Linked DNA regions of Homo sapiens: region 1 is linked to region 2. Evidence: promoter capture Hi-C in 16 types of primary human blood cells and fetal thymus (Javierre and others, 2016). All regions are on one chromosome and are shown on one strand. Each heading gives the region's core, a stretch centred on a gene start or on the middle of the fragment in contact. The rest is flanking DNA. Distances are from core to core; before and after follow the strand shown. Region 1 overlaps ARHGEF7 (Rho guanine nucleotide exchange factor 7). Region 2 holds the start of RAB20 (RAB20, member RAS oncogene family).

Evidence for each region. Contacts are between HindIII fragments. The CHiCAGO score rates a contact against its expected background, and 5 or more counts as called.
Region 1: a contact is called between a fragment that was not itself captured here and the fragment with the promoter of RAB20 in region 2, in 1 of 17 cell types (monocytes). The highest score is 6.7, in monocytes.

The regions. Positions count from the first base shown.
Region 1 is chr13:111,157,042-111,163,106 of GRCh38, forward strand. All of the region lies in intron 2 of ARHGEF7 (Rho guanine nucleotide exchange factor 7), which reads left to right. Among named protein-coding and RNA genes, the nearest start is that of ARHGEF7-AS1, 12 kb to the left of the region's middle. The HindIII fragment of the contact is 740 bases long and covers 909-1,648 here.
Region 2 is chr13:110,556,728-110,562,971 of GRCh38, forward strand. It overlaps RAB20 (RAB20, member RAS oncogene family), which reads right to left and starts at 4,995. Exons shown (of 2, transcript NM_017817.3): 1 at 4,621-4,995. The coding sequence starts at 4,792. RefSeq lists enhancers at 667-1,190, 1,191-1,713 and silencers at 4,555-4,614, 4,594-4,783, 4,675-5,124. The HindIII fragment of the contact is 2,254 bases long and covers 3,299-5,552 here.

The DNA of each region.
Region 1 (6,065 bases), core at 29-2,528, 600 kb after region 2:
CCCTCCTTAATTACCTGTAGAAAATCAGATATTATCCCCCAATTGTTTTGATTATGAAAATATTTTTATAAATTGGTTTTAAAGGAATATTGTGTGAGTCGCATTTATTGGTAAACTTTGAGAAGCACTGGGTTTTAAGCTGGAAAACTTTGAAATTTGGAAAATTAAAAAAATTTAATTACTGTTGGAAAGCAGTGCAACTTGGATGACTTCATTTTCTTATAACTTTTTTACTTGGCATGCTTAAATTTTTTTTTTTTTTCCAGTTAGGGCAAAAAACCCCTAGGCACACAATTTCTATTTGTATCTCAAAAGCAACCAAAATAATAATTATTAATAAGAATAATGATGATGTTGGCTGGGTGCAGTGGCTCATGCCTGTAATCCTAGCGCTTTGGGAGGCTGAGGCGGGTAGATCACCTTAGGTCAGGAGTTTGAGACCAGCATGACCAACATGGTGAAACCCCATCTCTACTAATCACGCCACTGCCCTCCAGCCTGGACAACAGAGCAAAACTCCGTCTCAAAAAAAGAAAAAAAAAATGATGATGATGATGATGTTTGTAGAATTTCACTTGAGGATAAGTAACTTACTGAGGCAAACCAAGCAAGTGATAGGACATTTCTTTGCATTTTCTTAGGTAAACAGCTACAGAGAAATTCAGAGTGATTTCTGTTTCCAGTATTTTGCTATGTTACTGTGGAATTCTGATTCAAGTGTTGTAGCTACTGTAGGATGTGTATGTGTGCATGTGTGTGTGTGCACATGCTTGTTCACTGAAAAGGTCACAATGAATTAGCTTCCAAGATGTTCCCACCCTATGCAACATTGTCTGATTAGGCATCTGACAACTAGGGAAGCAGGTGAAATGTAACTGGCAAAAGCAGATTTTATGTTCCTAGGAGAAAGCTTGTTTGGTTAAAGCCATCACGCCTGTAACATGTTTACCAGTTTTTTATTTCAAGAGCTGAAAGTTAAGGATATAAGATTCCAGTTAATTGATACATTATTAAGCTCACATTAATAACGTGGTTTCAGGAATATTAGCAACAAAATTATTATAATAAAGCTATGGATTTTAACTTAGTTCTGTTTGAAAGAAAGATGTCTACTGTTCTTGATACTTAGCTATATTCATACATAATAGAAAAGGGTAATCTTGATGGATAGTTTGATATTAATGAGGCTTTTTTGCTTAAGAATTGACTGTGGGCTCACATACAGTGTTACCATCACTACTTGAAAGGAAAACAAAACATTTCAGATGAAACTGGGTGAGCCTGTTCTCATAGTTGCCAAGAGGGAATAAAGCCAATTTGTCAAGTGTAAGGAAACCACAGCTCTTTCTTGTCATAGACCATTTCTGGAATAGTTATGTTTGATATGATAGGGATGGTAACCCTAATATATTAATAATTGATCTTTCCAGCTCCTTGGCACTGCAACTAATACTAAAATTATCTGCAGGTTTCACAGTTGCTGTTCATTTATTTAACTGTTTTTCTGGAAAAGTGGAAAGCATCCAAAGGCCCAGGTGGTTCAGAACAGAAATCTGCTCTTTTCTCATCCTCACCCTTGGAAGTTTTTGGTTGGCTTTTGGTCTCTCAGATCAACAGAGCATGAAATGTAGACCAGCTAGTCACATAAAGCTTGCCTCATATCCAGTTTCTTTTCTTTAATTCTTATATTTTGTTTTTAAATTGACAAATAGTTGCATGTATTTATGGAGTAACATCATTATGTTATGGTATATGAATGCATTGTGGAATGATTAAGTCGGGAATGAACATATCCGTTACCTCACATACTTCTTATTTCTTTGTGGTAAGAACATTTAAAATCTAATCTTTTAGCAATTTTGAAATATACTTTAAATTATTGTTAACTGTAGTCACCTGCTGTACAATAGATCACTAAAATTTATTCCTCCCGTCCGACTGAAATTTTGTACCCTTTGACTAACATCTCCCCTTTCCCTGTCTAGCTCCTGTTTCCTCCTTCCCAGCCTCCTCAGCATCTGGTAACCACCATTCTCTTGTCTGCTTCTGTGAGTTCAGCTTTTTTACACTTTACATATAGGTGAGATCGTGCAGTATTTGTCTTTTTGTGCCCTGCTTTCTCTTAGCACAATGTTCTCCAGGTTCATTCATTGTTGTTGCAAATAACAGGATTTCCTTTTTTTAAAAGTCTGACTAGTATTCTATTGTGTATATATCCCACATTTTCTTTATTCTCTCATCTTTCAGTGGACACTTAGATTGATTTTATATCTTGGCTGTTGTGAATAGTGCTGCCATGAAAATGGGAGTGCAGACATCTCTTCAACATACTGATTTTAGTTTCTTTGGCTATATACCCAGTAGTGGGATTGCTGGATCATATGATAATTCTGTTTTTAGATTTTGGAGGAACCTCCATACTGTTTCCCAGAATGGCTTCAGGAATTTACATTCCCACCAACAATGTGCAAGGCTTATCTTTTCTCCACATCCTTGCCAACACCTGTCGCCTTTCATCTTTTTGATAATAGCCATTCTACAGTTGTGAGATGCTCTCATGATTTGAATGTGCATTTCTCTGATCATTAGTGATGTTGAACATTTTCTAATCTGTTGGCCATTTGTATGTCTTTGGAGAAATGTCTGTTTGGGTCCTTTGCTCATCATTTTTTAATCAGGTTTTTTTTTGTTACTGAGTTTTTAAATATATTTTGGATATTAGCTTCTTATCAGATGTATGGTTTGCAAATACTTTCTTTCCGTTCTGTGAGTTGTCTCTTAATTCTGTTTTGCTGTGCATAATCTTTTCAGTTTGATGAAATCCCATTTATCTTATTTTTGCCTCTGTTTTCGGTGCTTTTGGGGTCATATCCAAGAACTCATTGTCCAGACCAATGTCTTGGAGCTTTCCATGGTGCTTATTTCTGGTAGTTTCATAGTCTCAGGTCTTACATTTAAGTCTTTAGTCCATTTTGAGTTCATTTTTGTATGTGTTGTGAGACAAGGTTCCAATTTAATTTTTCTGCATGTGGATATCCAATTTTCCCAGCACCATATGTTGAAGACTGTCCTTTTCCCATTGGGTGTTCTTGGCACCTTTGTCAAAGGTCTATTGACTGTATCATGTGAGTTTAATTCTCAGCTCTCTATTCTGCTCTGTTGGTCTGTGTGTCTGCTTTTATGCTAGTGCCATGCTGTTTTGGCTGCTATAGCTTGGTAATACACTTTGAAATCAGGTAGTGTGATGCCTCCAGCTTTGTTCTTTTTACTCAAGAATGCTTTAGTTATTGGGGTTTTTTTTTTTTGTGATTCCATGTGAATTTCAGGATTGTTTTTCTATATCTGTGAAGAATACCATTGTAAATTTGGTAGACATTGCATTGAATCTGTGGATCACCTTGGATGTTTTAACAGTACAGGTTAAGCATGCTGACTGATACGGTTTGCCTGTGTCCACACCCAGATCTCATCTTGAATTGTAATCTGCATAATCCCCACGTCTAGGGAGAGACCTAGGGAGAGACCCAGGAGATTATGGGGATTACAATTCAAGATGAGATTTGGAGTTAGAGATCAGCCTGGGCTACGTGGCAAAACCTCATTTCTACAAAGAAAAAAAAAATCTATTGGACAGTGCTGGATCCAGTAGAATCCTAGGAGATGGGATCATGGGGGTGATTTCCCCCATGCTGTTCTTGTGATAACGAGGGAGTTCTCAGGAGATCTGATGGTTTTATAAGGGGCTCCTCCCCCTTTGCTCCTCACCCTTCTGTCTCCTGCTGCCCTGTGAAGAGGTGCTTTTCGCCATGATTGTAAGTTTCCTGTGGCCTCACCAGCCATGTGGAACTGTGAGTCATTTAAACCTCTTTTCTTTATAAATTACCCAGTCTTGGGTATGTCTTTGTAACAGTGTGAACGTGGACTAATGTACATGCCAAACCTGAAAATCCAAAATGCTCCAAAATCTGAAATTCTTTGAGTACCAATGTGACACTCAAAGGAAATGCTCATTGGAGTGTTTTGGATTTTCAGGATTTGAGATGCTCAACTGATAACTATAATGAAAATATCCCTAAATCTGAAATACAAAACACTTCTGATGTCAACTTGTGTCACTTCTGAGAATGTGTACATGATGCTGAGTAGCACAGAGCATGCTTGTGGCATGGGTGCTAAATGGTTAGCTTGGCACACTCACAGCTAGTAATTGTGACTTTGATCTTCAGCTGATTTCTCCTTTTTTGATTCAGGGTTATTGCTCACTCCTGGTAGCTGCCCATGATTATCAGGTATTTGCTTTGCGGGGGACGGTATAGGGGGAGGGAATGTAGTGCCTGACCCCAACCCCTTTCCTGGGTTGCTGTCCTGTGTTGCCACTCGCCAGCTGTGCCATCAGGAAAATGGGTGTCACACGTGCTTGCCCTTTGTGTCTGTCGTGAGGATTACATAAATTCATGCAAAACTCTTAGAACAGTGCCTGGTAAGTTGGAGGTGCCAAAGAGACAATAGCTGTTATTATCATTTGCATTATTATTCTTTCGTGTAGTTGGAGCCATATGGTATATTTTAAATCTTTACCCAGGGTTCCATATTCATTTTTTAAACTGCAGTAAATAGAGCTATGTAAGAAGAAAATGAAAAGCTGTATAATGCTACCGTTTAGAGATACCAGTGTTAAAATTAGTATTTCTTTTTTGGTAATTTTTTTTTTAACCATTGCAAATATGTAAATATATTTTTAAAATATCCATGACATCATAGATACATGTAATGTTTTATAACATGCTTTAATTTGATCCAGTGTGAGTCTTTTCCCATGTTAAATAATTATTTTACTACTGATTTTAATGGCTGCCTCTTAGTTCCTGGTAATAATCCCCATTTTTGGATACAGAGGTGGATTCTAAGTTTCCACGGTTGTGAACAGTGGACTGTGCAATGGACATTTCTGTACCACACCCTTAATCCTTGATTTTCTTTGTAGGACAAATTCCCTGATAGGGCACTGCAAGGCCAAAGGTGGGGGCTTTCAAAGGCTTTGAACACCTGCTACCATACAGCTTCCAGAGAACTTTTGCCAGTAGCAGTACATGAGAGTACTCCTTCCTGTCCTATGGATGTCCTGTGGACAGCTGTCTTGAATCTTTTATATATTTTCTTTCCCTTAGGAAGATGGAAAACTTGTTATGGATAAACATTTTGGCTTTTCTATCTTATATCTTCCACAGTGCTTTATATTTCTGGGGAGATTGCAAACTAAAATAAATGTAAGTCAGTCAACATTTCCTGCATTGGACTTTTGAAAGAGGATGTGAAAGAAAAGCTGCTAGAATTGGAAATAAAAGTTGAAAACCCTAGAAATTTGCAGTGTTATCAGCTGTTGCACAAGTAACCTTGCATGGCACTGGGTGGGACATTCTTGGGCCACTCTGTACAAGCTGGAGTTCTGGCTGTAAATGCATCTTGAGACGGTCTGCAAAGGTGAGAGGGCAGGTTTTCATTTTCTCACTTTACAGTCGAGAGACTTCAGAAGGAGTTCAGGTGGGCAGTCCAGCATCGTAAGGAGCTGGGATAATTTAGTGAGTGAGAGGTTTTGGAAAAGAAATTGCCTTACCTGTTTCTGAAACACTCATCTTCCCTGTGTATTTCTGAAGGACAAGTTCTTTTATTATACTGCTCTGCCTAATGCTCAGTTCTCTTTTAGATTTTTTTTAGCCAAGATTGTGATTAGGATTTCACCCACAAGAATAGTTAAAAATATTAACACTTTTGAAAGAATTAAAATGTGGGAACCACTTACTGAAACTCAAAACTTGTTGATGCAGGCTTAATAATTAATTGCAATAAAAACAGAAGTAAATCTATAGTCTGGGATGGGACGCCCAGCCAAGTGTTGTCTTTGTTCTAGATTCAGACAGATGAGGAGGTAAACTGTTTATTGAAACTTGGCATTGAAGGTTTATAAGCACCAAAGATATGTTTGAGGCATTCTTTTTAGCTGGGCACCCTTCTATACTGTTGATACCAAGCGTGAAACGGTTGGTCACAACATAGTGTTTATTGAC
Region 2 (6,244 bases), core at 3,745-6,244:
CCCTGTGTTGCCCAGGCTGGTCTTGAACTCCTAGGTTCAGGTGATCCTTTCACTTCAGCCTCCTAAAATGCTGGGATTACAGGCAGGAGCTACCATGCCCAGCAAATTTGTGTTGTTTTAAGTAACTAATTTGTTATAGCAGCAATAGGAAACTGACACAGACTTTGGAACTGGGAGCAGAGAGAGGCTGTCACGAATATGGAAGTGGCTTTAGAACTGGGCAATGGCAGATCTGGGAGGATCTGAGGATCATGAGAGGGCAGCCCGGATTGGCCTAAACAGATGGTTGGCAGGAAGGTGCACATGAACAGCCCTGCTGGTGAGGAATCAGAAGGAAGCGAGAAGCATAGCAGAGAAAACCTGCATCCTCGTAGTGAACACCTCCACCAGAAGGAGCCAATTACAGGTGGAAGCCTGGGGTCTGAATGAGGACTGTGTTATCAGAAGCTGGAGGAGGGAGGATGTGGTGCCAGAGAGCTCAGCTGAGTCGTGCCCCACAGCTGTGAGGGAAGCATCACTGTGTGATGAAGTTGGATATGTAGCTGAGGAGATTTCCAAGCAAAGTGTTGAAGGTGTGGATTTTTCTTGCTGTTTATATTAAGATGAGGAAGAACAGATAGGATGAGGGAAGAATTGTCGAACAAAGAGGAGCAGGACTTGGTGATGTGGGAAGTCCTCAGTCAGGCAGATTGCTGGGAGGCTCACACTAGGAGGCCCACCATCCGGAACGCCTGTGCTGGAGAGGAGGCCCTGGTGTGGCCACATAACCTTCTGCTGGTGCCTCAGAAGGACCCAAAGGCCAGAGGACTCTCAAGAGACCAAGATGTCTCATCTTTGCGGTGGCCACTATTCTGTCTGTCACAGCCTGGCTTCAGGCTCCCACAGACGTGCATCCATTCCACATGCAAAATGCACTCACTCTCTCCAACACCCAGTCCCCAGAGACGCAGCTGGAGCTGGATGCCGGCACAGGGAAGTGGCGCAAGTCTGGGCTCCCCGCCGCCTTCCAAGCTGGCTCTTCAAGGGCCAGGTGCTGGGGATGCAAACGTGAGTCAGGTAATGCCCCTGCTCCCCCCGCCTCCCGGCCGCCAGGCCACGGCCTTTAGAAGGGAAGGAAAACAAATGTGGAGAGCATTCTGTCTCCAGGGCTCTGGGGACCAGGTCTGTGCTGGGCACACCAGCCGCTTTCTCATCAGCCTGTCGTATTTTCTTCAGAGCAACGATCAGATGTGAAGCTGTACCATTCACTTCTTGCCTGCCTTTCCCCCTCCTCTGGAATCCAGGGCCTGCGGGGCAGCGGCCAGCCGGCCTGCTCACTGCTGTAGAACGAGGGCCCAAACAGTGCCCGGCACCGGGGAGCCTCAGTTTATATTTGCCAACAACAGGCAACACCACTTTAGGCTGTCCTGAGCAACCGGGCAACACAGAGGAGCACAGCAGTACGTCTTCTAGGGCTCTGCCTCCTCGCTGGGCAACCTCCTTTTGCTTCCTGGATGTACCCACCCATGCACAGCAACCACTCCACATCTGTGTGCCCAATTAGACAAGGGCTGGGAGTGGCAAGTGCCCCCTAAAAGGGCATAATGAGACAAGGTGAGTTGGAGTTGGATGAACCAAGGTCTAAATCCCACTTAACTTCTGCTGTCTTCCCACTTTTTTTTTTTTTTTTTTTTGAGACAGAGTCTTACTCTTGTCACCCAGGCTGGAGTGCAATGGCGCAATCTTGGCTCACTGCAACCTCCGCCTCCAGGGTTCAAGCGATTCTCCTGCCACAGCCTCCCAAGTAGCTAGGATTACAGGCGCCAGCCACCACACCCAGCTAATTTTTGTATTTTTAGTAGACACGGGTTCACCACATTAACCAGGCTGGTCTTGAACTCCTGACCTTAGGTGATCTGCCCGCCTCACCCTCCTAAAGTGCTGGGATTACAGGCATGAGCCACCGCGCAGCCCTGTCTTCCCATCTGTTTTTTTTTTTTTTTTTTTTTTTGAGACAGAGTCTCGCTCTGTCACCGGGTTGGAGTGCAGTGGCACAATCTTGGCTCACTGCAACCTCTGCCTCCTGGTTCAAGCGATTCTCCTGCCTCAGCCTCCCGAGTAGCTGGGACTACAGGTGTGCGCCACCACGCCCTGCTAACTTTTGTATGTTTAGTAGAGATGGGGTTTCACCATGTTAGCCAGGATGGTCTTGATCTCTTGACCTCGTGATCCACCCACCTCAGCCTCCCAAAGTGCTGGGATTACAGGCATGAGCCACCACGCCTGGCCCCATCTTTAACATGCAAATAATCACACCTCCCTCTGGAGGACTGTTGTGTCAATGGAATAGGGTAATGTACTTCTGCCCTGCCAACTCTCTTCCCCCTCTTCAGCTCCATCCACTGCCTGCCTTGCAGGCTACAAGCAGCCAGGCATTGGGTGTACACTGACCCCCATGCAATCGTTTTTACTATTAAACATCCTGTCGCCCTCTGCACACCTGCACCCCCACCCCAGCCCACCCTGCCTTGTGTGGCTAAAAGCAACTTTCAAAATGGTTCCTCCTCCGGCTGGTCCTTACCATTCTGCCTCGGTTATGACAATTACAACAAAAACAACTTGAAAAGCAATGTCTGTGGGGTGGAGAGAAAGTTTAGGAGCTCAGCAAAAGAAGGAAAAGAACAGGGTCCCCTAAATGTTAAATTCTGAATTTCCAACAATTATAGAAAAGGTATCTGTTCCTACCTCTCTTTTCCCTTCAAGTACCCGGTCAGGCCACAGGCCACCGAGGAGGCAGGCAAGGGTGCCCTGTGTCCCTGCCAACTCTGGGCAAGGGCCGCCTGAGTGTGTACACAGGAAGTCAGGAATGTGGAGAAGGGGCCTGGCCACTCTCTGTTCTGAGGAGCTCTAGTAATTCACCCTTAGGATCTTTCGAACAAGCAGCAGCAGCCTCGGATGCCAGGAAATGAGCTGCTGCCCCCCAGTAACGCTTCAAGACATCTGGGGCGTCACATCAGCACAACTGCAAAATCTCTGGTGATCAGGATTCCGGCTGCATCACGTCCTTGGTGCTGAAGAAGCAAGAGGCCAGTGGAAACGAAACTGCTGCTTCATTCCCTCCGATGCAGGGGCCGTTCCAGCACTGCAGGGCAGCTCTTGTTCCAGAAACACACCGTGTGTTAAGAGTCTGCCTCCAACGGTGGCCACTACAGGGGTTTCGGTTAGGGTCCCCCAATAACACTCCTGCATTAACCTTGCTACTTGTAAACCAAGGGCAGCAGTAAATCCCAGCCAACCAGCAAAAGCAGCAGAGGGGCAAAGCTTTGTACAAAACCAAATTGGGTTCAATTTGACTTTGTACAGAAGCAAATTGGGTTCGTGAATTGGGTTCGATTTGACTTCTAGAGCGTGTGTTCCATCGTTACCAAATGCTCAGTGTGAGGGAGTCAGCTCAGTAAACCTCATCCTGCAGCCTGAGGCAGAAGACAGAGTTGGAGCAAAGATCAGGGAAATGCACCTCTTTACCTGGGGGACATTGTTTTCACAAGATGATTGCCAATAAATTAGTCACGATGTTAACTGGGATAATAATAAAAAAGCATCAAAGAAGGCAAAAGGGAGGGGGAGAACTGGAAGTACCTCTGTGAGCTTCGTTAATTCAGTTTTAAAGAGAGAATTCATTATCATCTTGTTTATTCAGCATACTGATACACCCAAGATGGCAATTTAAGAATTCTGGACGGGGCCTTTGGGTATATGACTTTTTAAGATGCTAACATAAAAGAAGTCAGAACTTTCAGAGTTTCAGGCTTCTAAAAACTCACACTCATTGAAAATGTGTCACACTATTTCCAGTTTCTTCATTCACTTACAATATCTTATTCTTTTGTAAGGAGAAGGAAATATATTCCATTGCAATGCTACAATCACCAGTGTTATTTTCCAAAGTTAAACAGAAAGCCTGAATTGAGATCCTCTAAGTTGTACTTTTGAAAAGTCACAAATACTACACAATAAAAATAACTCATTACCTATCTTAAAAATGCTTCCACCGGAAGTCACTCCAACCCAAACCCATATGACGTATCTGAGCCAAGATCAAGCAGAAGATTAACTGTAAAAGGCAGATATGCTCCGGGCTAAGAGGTCCGGAGGCTCCAGTTTTATTTCCTCTCTCCTGACTAAACCCAACAGGGGGGAACACTCTGTGCCTCATTTTACTTTTTCTTAGAAAGGGGCTAATAACACCAGCTCTGCTCACCCCTCAAGTGAATCTCAAAGGATATCATGTTCCTACGGGTACGTGAAAACTGAAAATACCTAACAAAGCAGCCACAGAGGAGCGTCTCTGGTTCCCAGGGCGGCAGAGCAGGAACGCGGGGCTCGGGAGCAAAGGCAGCTTAGGTACACAAATGACCAGCGGGTTCTCTGCAACTTGGGTTGTCCCTGAGGTCACTGAGTGGCTGAGAGGCAGCGCTCAGCCCAACCAGCAAGGGAGGACGAGTGGGAAACCCCGAGAAGGAGGCATTTGCTGTCCGAGGCCGGGACCCTGTGCGCGGCCGGGTGCCCTGCTGGAAGCCCCGCGCCCCCCGTCCCCGGCGGAGCCCCAGGGCGGTGTGGCTCATGCGGCGCCGGCCTCACCTGCGGTGTCCCAGATGGAGATGTTGTAGGAGCGCCACTGCTTCAGGTAGAAGGCGCCGCCCACCGTGCTGACCGTGTCCGGGAAGCGCCGCTCCATATACCGCTGCAGCAGCGACGTCTTCCCCACGTTCATGTCCCCCAGGAGCACGATCTTGCTGTCGGGCTTCCTCATCTTCCCGTAAGAACCCCCAGCGCCCCCGCGCCCTCTCCCCGAGGCTGGCCGGCTCGTGCGCCCTGGGCGCAGCTGGAGGAGCGGACCCCGGACTCGCCGGGACCCGGATTCTCGTGAACGCTCCGGGACCTTCGCCTCCGGACGCCCGGGAGCTCAAGAGAGGAAGCGCGTGTGCGCGCCCGGGAAGGAGCTGGGTGCAGAGCACGGAGCCCACGTCGGGGGCCCGGACCGCGGCGGCCTCGCCTCGCCCCGCCCCCGCCCCCGCCCCCGGGCCCTTTCACCGCCGCGGCCCCGCCCTATCCTCCTCCGCCCACCGCCCCCGTCCCGCCCCTGCTGGACCTCGCCGTTTCGCAAGCATCCGAGTTCTCCAGCCGAGGCTCGGGACTGCTGCAGGGTGGAAAATGAAAGTTCTGAGAGCACCTTCCGCCCCTCCGCTTCTGCACAGCCGGGGCTGCGGTGCGAGGAGCTTGGCCGCGGGGCCCGAACGAGGCGAAGGGGCCGGGGCCCTTGGGGAACCCCCTTCTCTCTTCCACTCTCCCTTAGGTAAAACCCGTGTTCCTCTCACGCTCGACCCAGCGCCTTTCCAGCTGCGGTCGATTTGCTTCTCCGCGTGTAAGTACAGCCACCCTCAAGGTCATTGAAAAAGTTTGCTTTAAATGAGCGTCTGCGGAACTCGTCCTGAGGCTCTCACTGTTACAGATTAGAGATGGGGGCGCTTTCTAGTGGAGGATTTTGCTTTTGCTCTTCTACTTTTGCAAGAAGCTTTTTGTCCTGAAAAGTGGACAGTCATCTCCATTTATAGCTTGGAATGAAAATTTGACTATGGAAGTTGCAGTCGCTACTTGAGAAATATTTCCTCCTTCTTTTTTTTTTTTTTTTTTTATTTTTGACACGGAGTTTTGCTGTTGTTGCCCAAGCTGGAGAGCAGTGCGCGATCTCGGCTCACTGCAACCTCCGCCTTCCGGTTTCAAGCGATTCTCCTGCCTCAGCCTCCCGAGTAGGCGGGATTACAGGTATGTGCCACCATGCCCGGCTAATTTTTGTATTTTTAGTAGACACGGGGTTTCACCATGTTGGCCAGGCTGGTCTCGAACTCCTGACCTCGTGATCCACCCGCTTCGGCCTCCCAGGTCCTCCTTCCGTTTTAAAGGATAAACCTTGAAATGCTTTTAAAATATGCAGCGTGTAGAATTTGGTTAGTTGGTTGGTTGGGGTTTTTTAGAGAAAATGAGAGGTAGAATGGACTCTAAGTTAAACCCTGGGGGACAGTGTCACTCTGGCCGCTGGCCTGGCTGGGAAAGGCGATGAGACCCTGAGCAGGTTAAAACCCGTGTCCTGAAGGTGTCCTGTAAAGGGAAATAGGCCCGTTGCCTCCTTCGTAGGTGCCCTGAGACTCCGACAAGGCAGGAATGCCAAGGTATTTCGTACCTGCTCAGCCCTGGCATGTCAGGT